Regions from separate parts of the Homo sapiens genome. Here region 1 is linked to region 2. Evidence: promoter capture Hi-C in 16 types of primary human blood cells and fetal thymus (Javierre and others, 2016). All regions are on one chromosome and are shown on one strand. Each heading gives the region's core, a stretch centred on a gene start or on the middle of the fragment in contact. The rest is flanking DNA. Distances are from core to core; before and after follow the strand shown.

The links. The method cuts DNA at HindIII sites, captures the fragments that hold promoters and counts their contacts. A CHiCAGO score of 5 or more calls a contact.
Region 1: a contact is called between a fragment that was not itself captured here and the fragment with the promoter of TMEM252 in region 2, in 1 of 17 cell types (neutrophils). The highest score is 6.4, in neutrophils.

The regions. Positions count from the first base shown.
Region 1 is chr9:68,423,291-68,425,990 of GRCh38, reverse strand. All of the region lies in intron 6 of PGM5 (phosphoglucomutase 5), which reads right to left. Among named protein-coding and RNA genes, the nearest start is that of PGM5-AS1, 67 kb to the right of the region's middle. The HindIII fragment of the contact is 9,480 bases long and covers 1-2,700 here.
Region 2 is chr9:68,539,507-68,542,206 of GRCh38, reverse strand. TMEM252 (transmembrane protein 252) reads left to right here and starts at 1,324. Exons shown (of 2, transcript NM_153237.2): 1 at 1,324-1,670. The coding sequence starts at 1,393. TMEM252-DT (TMEM252 divergent transcript) reads right to left here and starts at 1,182. Exons shown (of 5, transcript NR_187592.1): 1 at 977-1,182. The HindIII fragment of the contact is 3,743 bases long and covers 1-1,799 here.

The DNA of each region.
Region 1 (2,700 bases), core at 13-2,512, 120 kb after region 2:
ACCACTACCACTATAAAAATCTTAGCTGAGAAGTCAGAAAGTATCGCTCTTTTTTTAAATCTAAAACTAAAAGGATGTGAAATGTGAAATCTAGTGTACTTTCGATACAAATTTATTTCCATTTAAATTATAGAAAACCACTTTGGGCATCTCTTAGTGCTTTTTGTGTCCTGAGTTTACTTACAATGAAAGTCAAGACTCTGCATCATTAATCAGTAAAATTTAACAAATTATCATACTGTTTGGCCAATGAACACAATTGATTCAAGATGATTTCTCTTCCACATGCCAAGAAAAAAAACAATGAACAAATAAACACCATTTACCCAGAATATTTAGCATGTGACCTATTCTGGATTAAAAATATTTCTAAAATGTAGGTATCTCAACTCCAAAATAGGATAATGCTTAGGATAGGATTTGATCCAAACTCAACTCCTCTTGGAGTGCTCTCTTGGGTTTTTTTCTCCATTATGTACATTAAGGAATATAAGATAAGATATATATTTATGAAATTTCAAGTCAATCTTCTCTAATGTACATAAACAATGGAAAGTCTCCACATCCCTCCATCACCAGCAATAGCTCCTGGGAATCTCCTCTACTCTAATCCTTACCACTCTCGACCCCTTTCATGGTGGATTGGACAACCAGATGGGATGCTTTCACTGTGGGCCCTGCCTGCCATCTTTTGAAAACAATTCAGCAGCTTGGATGCTTCTGCCATGTCATCAAGTGAGTTGCCTCTCCTGCGTTCCTCTTGCTCTTTTTTTCCTCACTCCTGTAGAACTTTTGATAACTCTGGCTTGTTCCTAAACTTGTGTTTTTGCTTGCCAAGGAACAGTAAAAGAGAAAGAGGTGACTTATACTAGAAAGAGCATACAGAAAAGCCCTCAAAAAAGATGATCTCCCATTATAATTATCTAACTGTTTATTTCAAATAAGAAACTTTTAAAACAATGAATAACAAATGAAGAGCTAGAGGATTATACCAAATTTGTCTTAGTAGAAATTTGTTTAATCATATAATTATATGAATTTCAGAGAAAGGAAGAAGGAGGTCAATTTTGGACCTCAGAAGACAGGTCTAACTAATAAGGGCAACTTGAAGTCATGGTGTCTGGTTTTGCAAGCGTTCTTTAAAATCAAACAGTGCAACCTCCCACTAGTCCCCTAAGAGACATTAATAGGTACACCTGGGATGGTAGTTCATTGGTCAAATATGTTTGGGAAATGCTACATTCTGTAGTCCTTACTGGAGAATCACAACAATCTGTCAAAAGCTATGAAAAGTGAAGAAGTTAAGAAACTTGCTTTATATTTATTTCATCCTTTTCCAAATTTATTTTGTCCATGGAACCCTTCTGCCTTGTTTAAGAACACCCATTAACATTTCTTGTGAGTAGTGCTATAGCTTTGGTTGACCCAAAATTCACATGTTGAAATCTAGTTATCAATAATATGATTTTAGGAGGTGGGACCTTTTGGGGGTGATTAGATCCCAAGGGCAGATCCCTTGTGAATGAGATTAGAGCCCTTATAAAAGAAGCCCCTGAGAGCTGCCTTGCCCCTTCCACCATGTGAGGACACAGCAAGAAGAAACCATGTATAAACCAGGAAGCCAGGCCCTCACCAGACACCCAACACACCAGCTCCTTGATTTTGGACTTCTCAGCTTTCAGTACTGTGAGAAATAAATTTCTGTTGTTCATAAGCCACACTGTCTGTGTTATTTTGTGACAGCAGCTGGAACAGACTAAGACAAAGGGTGTTCCATGAAACACTTTGTGGGAAATGCAAAGTTGAGTCTTTTCTACACTAAACAACATCTCAGGCTTTTTCAGCAGCTCTTCATAGGAAACTTTTCCAGATGCTTTACCTTCCTCGTTCATCATGAGGTCTGAGGCTTGCGGAGGGCAGATATGCATAGAGAGGAGAGAGGAGTTCTGAGATGAAGTTAGAAGAAAATTGGCCACAGACTATGTCTACTTATTTTGTCAAGAGATACAGCAGTAGTGAATTGGGTGGGTTTGGAAGTAAAACTCAGCCTCCTCAAATTCAGCCCAGTCTTCCCCATTTAGGTACATTCTGTTTCTCTAATACTGTTCTGTTTTCTTGTCCACTTCCTGCTCCTTCCATTGCAAGGAGGAAAGGAGGGGAGGGAATGGAGTTACGTGTATGCGTGACCACACTTTTCCCATGCAGAGGAACATGGTGTAGTATTTGAGGGATGTCTCTGACTATTTATGGAATTGCAAAGGGTCTTCAAGGGCCTCAGCCCCCAAAAGAAAGAGAGAAAGAGGGAGGCAGAGAGAGAGAGAGAGAGAGAGAGAGACAGAGAGAGAGAGAGAGAGAGAGAGATTTTGTGCTCTTGGGGTTATTTCCCAAAGGCTGCCATTCCAGGGGAAGAGAAACAACCTGATTGAACCTAATGTCAGCTCTGCATGCCATTCTCAACACCAAGCTCTTCAGTCCTGCTCCTCAGAGCACTCTCCCTTCAAAGGTGCCTCACCACCATTTACTCTTTCAAATTCAGGTTCTTGTGTGTTCTTTTAAATTTTCGCCCTTGCAGAATGGCCATAATCCAAAAATAAAAAAATATAGTAGATGTTGGTGTGGATGCGGTGAACAGGGAACACTTCTATACTGCTGGTGGGAATGTAAACTAGTACAACCACTATGGAAAACAGTGTGGAGATT
Region 2 (2,700 bases), core at 75-2,574:
TTAGAAATATTCCATCTCACAGTTTGGGGAAGGAGGGAATAAGAGCTGTTTTAAGATTACAAAGACAATATCAAGACTAGAAGATCAAGGTAGTTCAAGGTCGAAATTGAAGCTAAGAAAGGTAAAGGCTAAGGGTTGGAATGGAGAAGTGCCTTATATAGTTTTTGATCCATAGTGTGTACCTCTCTAATATCCGTGTCTCCCAGCCCTAACATGAAGGTAGAGCTAAGGAGATGGTGAGTGTGAGACTAAAGGTTATATGAGGGATTATTAGGGCACGCCACAAAAAACTGCTGCTCTCATTGGGAAAGTAAATGGAAAATAATGGTAATGGAGTAGTGGAGTGGAACAGCAGCAAAGAGGAACTGAAGATAAGCTATCCTGAGTAAAAGCAACCCAGGGTTCCTATGGGAAGGAGACTTTTGGCAGAGACATGCCACATTATCAAATAAAAAAGGGCAGAGCCAGGGCATAAAGCACGTCTGAAATAAGCTATCCACAATCAAAGACAGTCAAGCTAAAGAAAACAAATTCCAGCCAGGAAACAGAAGGCTGGTTCTGGAAAGATTTTTTGAGGCAATGCTACATAGAGCAGAGGTGTGGAGGAGAGGACAGGGAACATTTTTAGCAGCATCCTCTAAAACGAATTCTATTTCATATGTACTTTATGAAAGGGGGAAAGATTGCAGGAATTACAGGCCCAAAATCCCCCCAAATTCCCGAGGCTCTGTCTATTATAGTCCTTTTCTCCAGCACTCTCCTTTCCCTCCCACTCAGGCTCTTTCGATCTTGTCAACAGAGCAGGAACCACGAAGTTCACACTCTGAACTTCTGTCTTGGAATTATGCCAGTATCATAGTGTGGGGGCAATAAGTGGGGATTCATTGAGGGAGGCAAGACAAACATGTTAACAGCCTTGAAGAAATGCCTTTTTAGTACAGAAAAAGGGAGAAGGAATCAGGAAGGGATTTCTTACCAAACCTCAAAGAAGATCGTTCTTTAAAGAGTGCTAACTTCTCCAGCTTTTAGTGGGGAATTGCCCTCCATGGGGATTAAGAGACCAGCGCCTTTTAATCAAAGGAGGGCTGTACGTTCAAATAACTGGGAACAGCTGAGTGTCCCACCCAACTCTGAAGAACAAAACAGCTACACGAAGCCACTCCTGCCTGCAGTATACAATGCTATGTTTTTTGGCTAATTCTCCAAGGATATTACACTTACTTTCAATGGTTAATGAATAGCTTCTAAGTGCCTGTTTCATTTAGTTGTCCAAAGGCCAGTGGGTCCCAGAGCATATAAAGCTGCAAGCTGGCTAATGAGCTCATTCTCTTGGAGCAAGCAGGGAAGCAGAGGAGCAGCAGGGTCAGGGTGCTGGGTTCCTAAGGTGCAAGGATGCAGAACAGAACTGGCCTCATTCTCTGTGCTCTTGCCCTCCTGATGGGTTTCCTGATGGTCTGCCTGGGGGCCTTCTTCATTTCCTGGGGCTCCATATTCGACTGTCAGGGGAGCCTGATTGCGGCCTATTTGCTTCTGCCTCTGGGGTTTGTGATCCTTCTGAGTGGAATTTTCTGGAGCAACTATCGCCAGGTGACTGAAAGCAAAGGAGTGTTGAGGCACATGCTCCGACAACACCTTGCTCATGGGGCCCTGCCCGTGGCCACAGTAGACAGGTACGTGCTGACAGGCAGAGGGACCAAGAAGGGCTGAGATGGGCTGAGTTGTGTAAGATCTGAGTAATTTCTGATCCTACTATGGAGCGACTTACATGTCCCATGGGCTGTCTGTCTAGAACCAAAGCTTTATTGTCAGGGAATTACTCTGGGGTTGTTATTAGGAAGAGTGGCGCCATCTTTGGGGAAAACCATGACGCAGGGGCAACTCATCTCAGAGAAACCCTACCACCACCCCCAGTGAAAACCCACCTAAGCCAATTTAGAAACCCAGGCTCTTTTGTTATATCATGGCAGCTGTCATTAATTAGTGGCAGGTGATGGTTAGTTACTTCCCATAACCTGGCTATGAGGTTCTAAGGAAAGCAAGTCCCAGACCAAATTCTGCCACACAACAAATGAAGAAGCAGGCATAAAATGAGTCCTGGAATCTCTGTGAGCTCAGAAAAGTCCCAGTTTACTGTCCTTTTAGGTGTTGTGATCTCACCTTGCATAAAACATTCCTTCAGGGGAAGGTGATAATATTCTAGAGGCAAGATTCATTCTTTCTCGCCATCTCATACATTAGGATAGTTATCATCAAAAAACAAAACCAAACAGCTAGTGTTGGTGAGGATGTCAATAAATTGGAACGCTGTGCATTGCTGGTGGGAATGTTAAAATGGTGCAACCACTGTGGAAAACAGTGTGGAGACTCCTCTATACATTAAATATTGAATTACTGTTTGATCTGGCAATTCTACATTCTGAGTTTATACACAAAGGAACTGAAAGCAGGGATTCAAATGGATGTTTGTACACCAATGCTTGTAGCAACATTTATTCATAATAGCCCAAATGTCCATCAACAGGTGAGTAGATAAACAAAATGTGGTATATACATGCAATGGAATATTAGCCTTAAAAAGGAAGGAAATCCTGGCACATGCCACCACTTGGATGAAGTTGAAAACATTATGCTAAGTGAAACAAGTCAGTTACAAAGGGCAAATATTGTATAATTCCACTTACATGAGTACTTAGCGTAGTC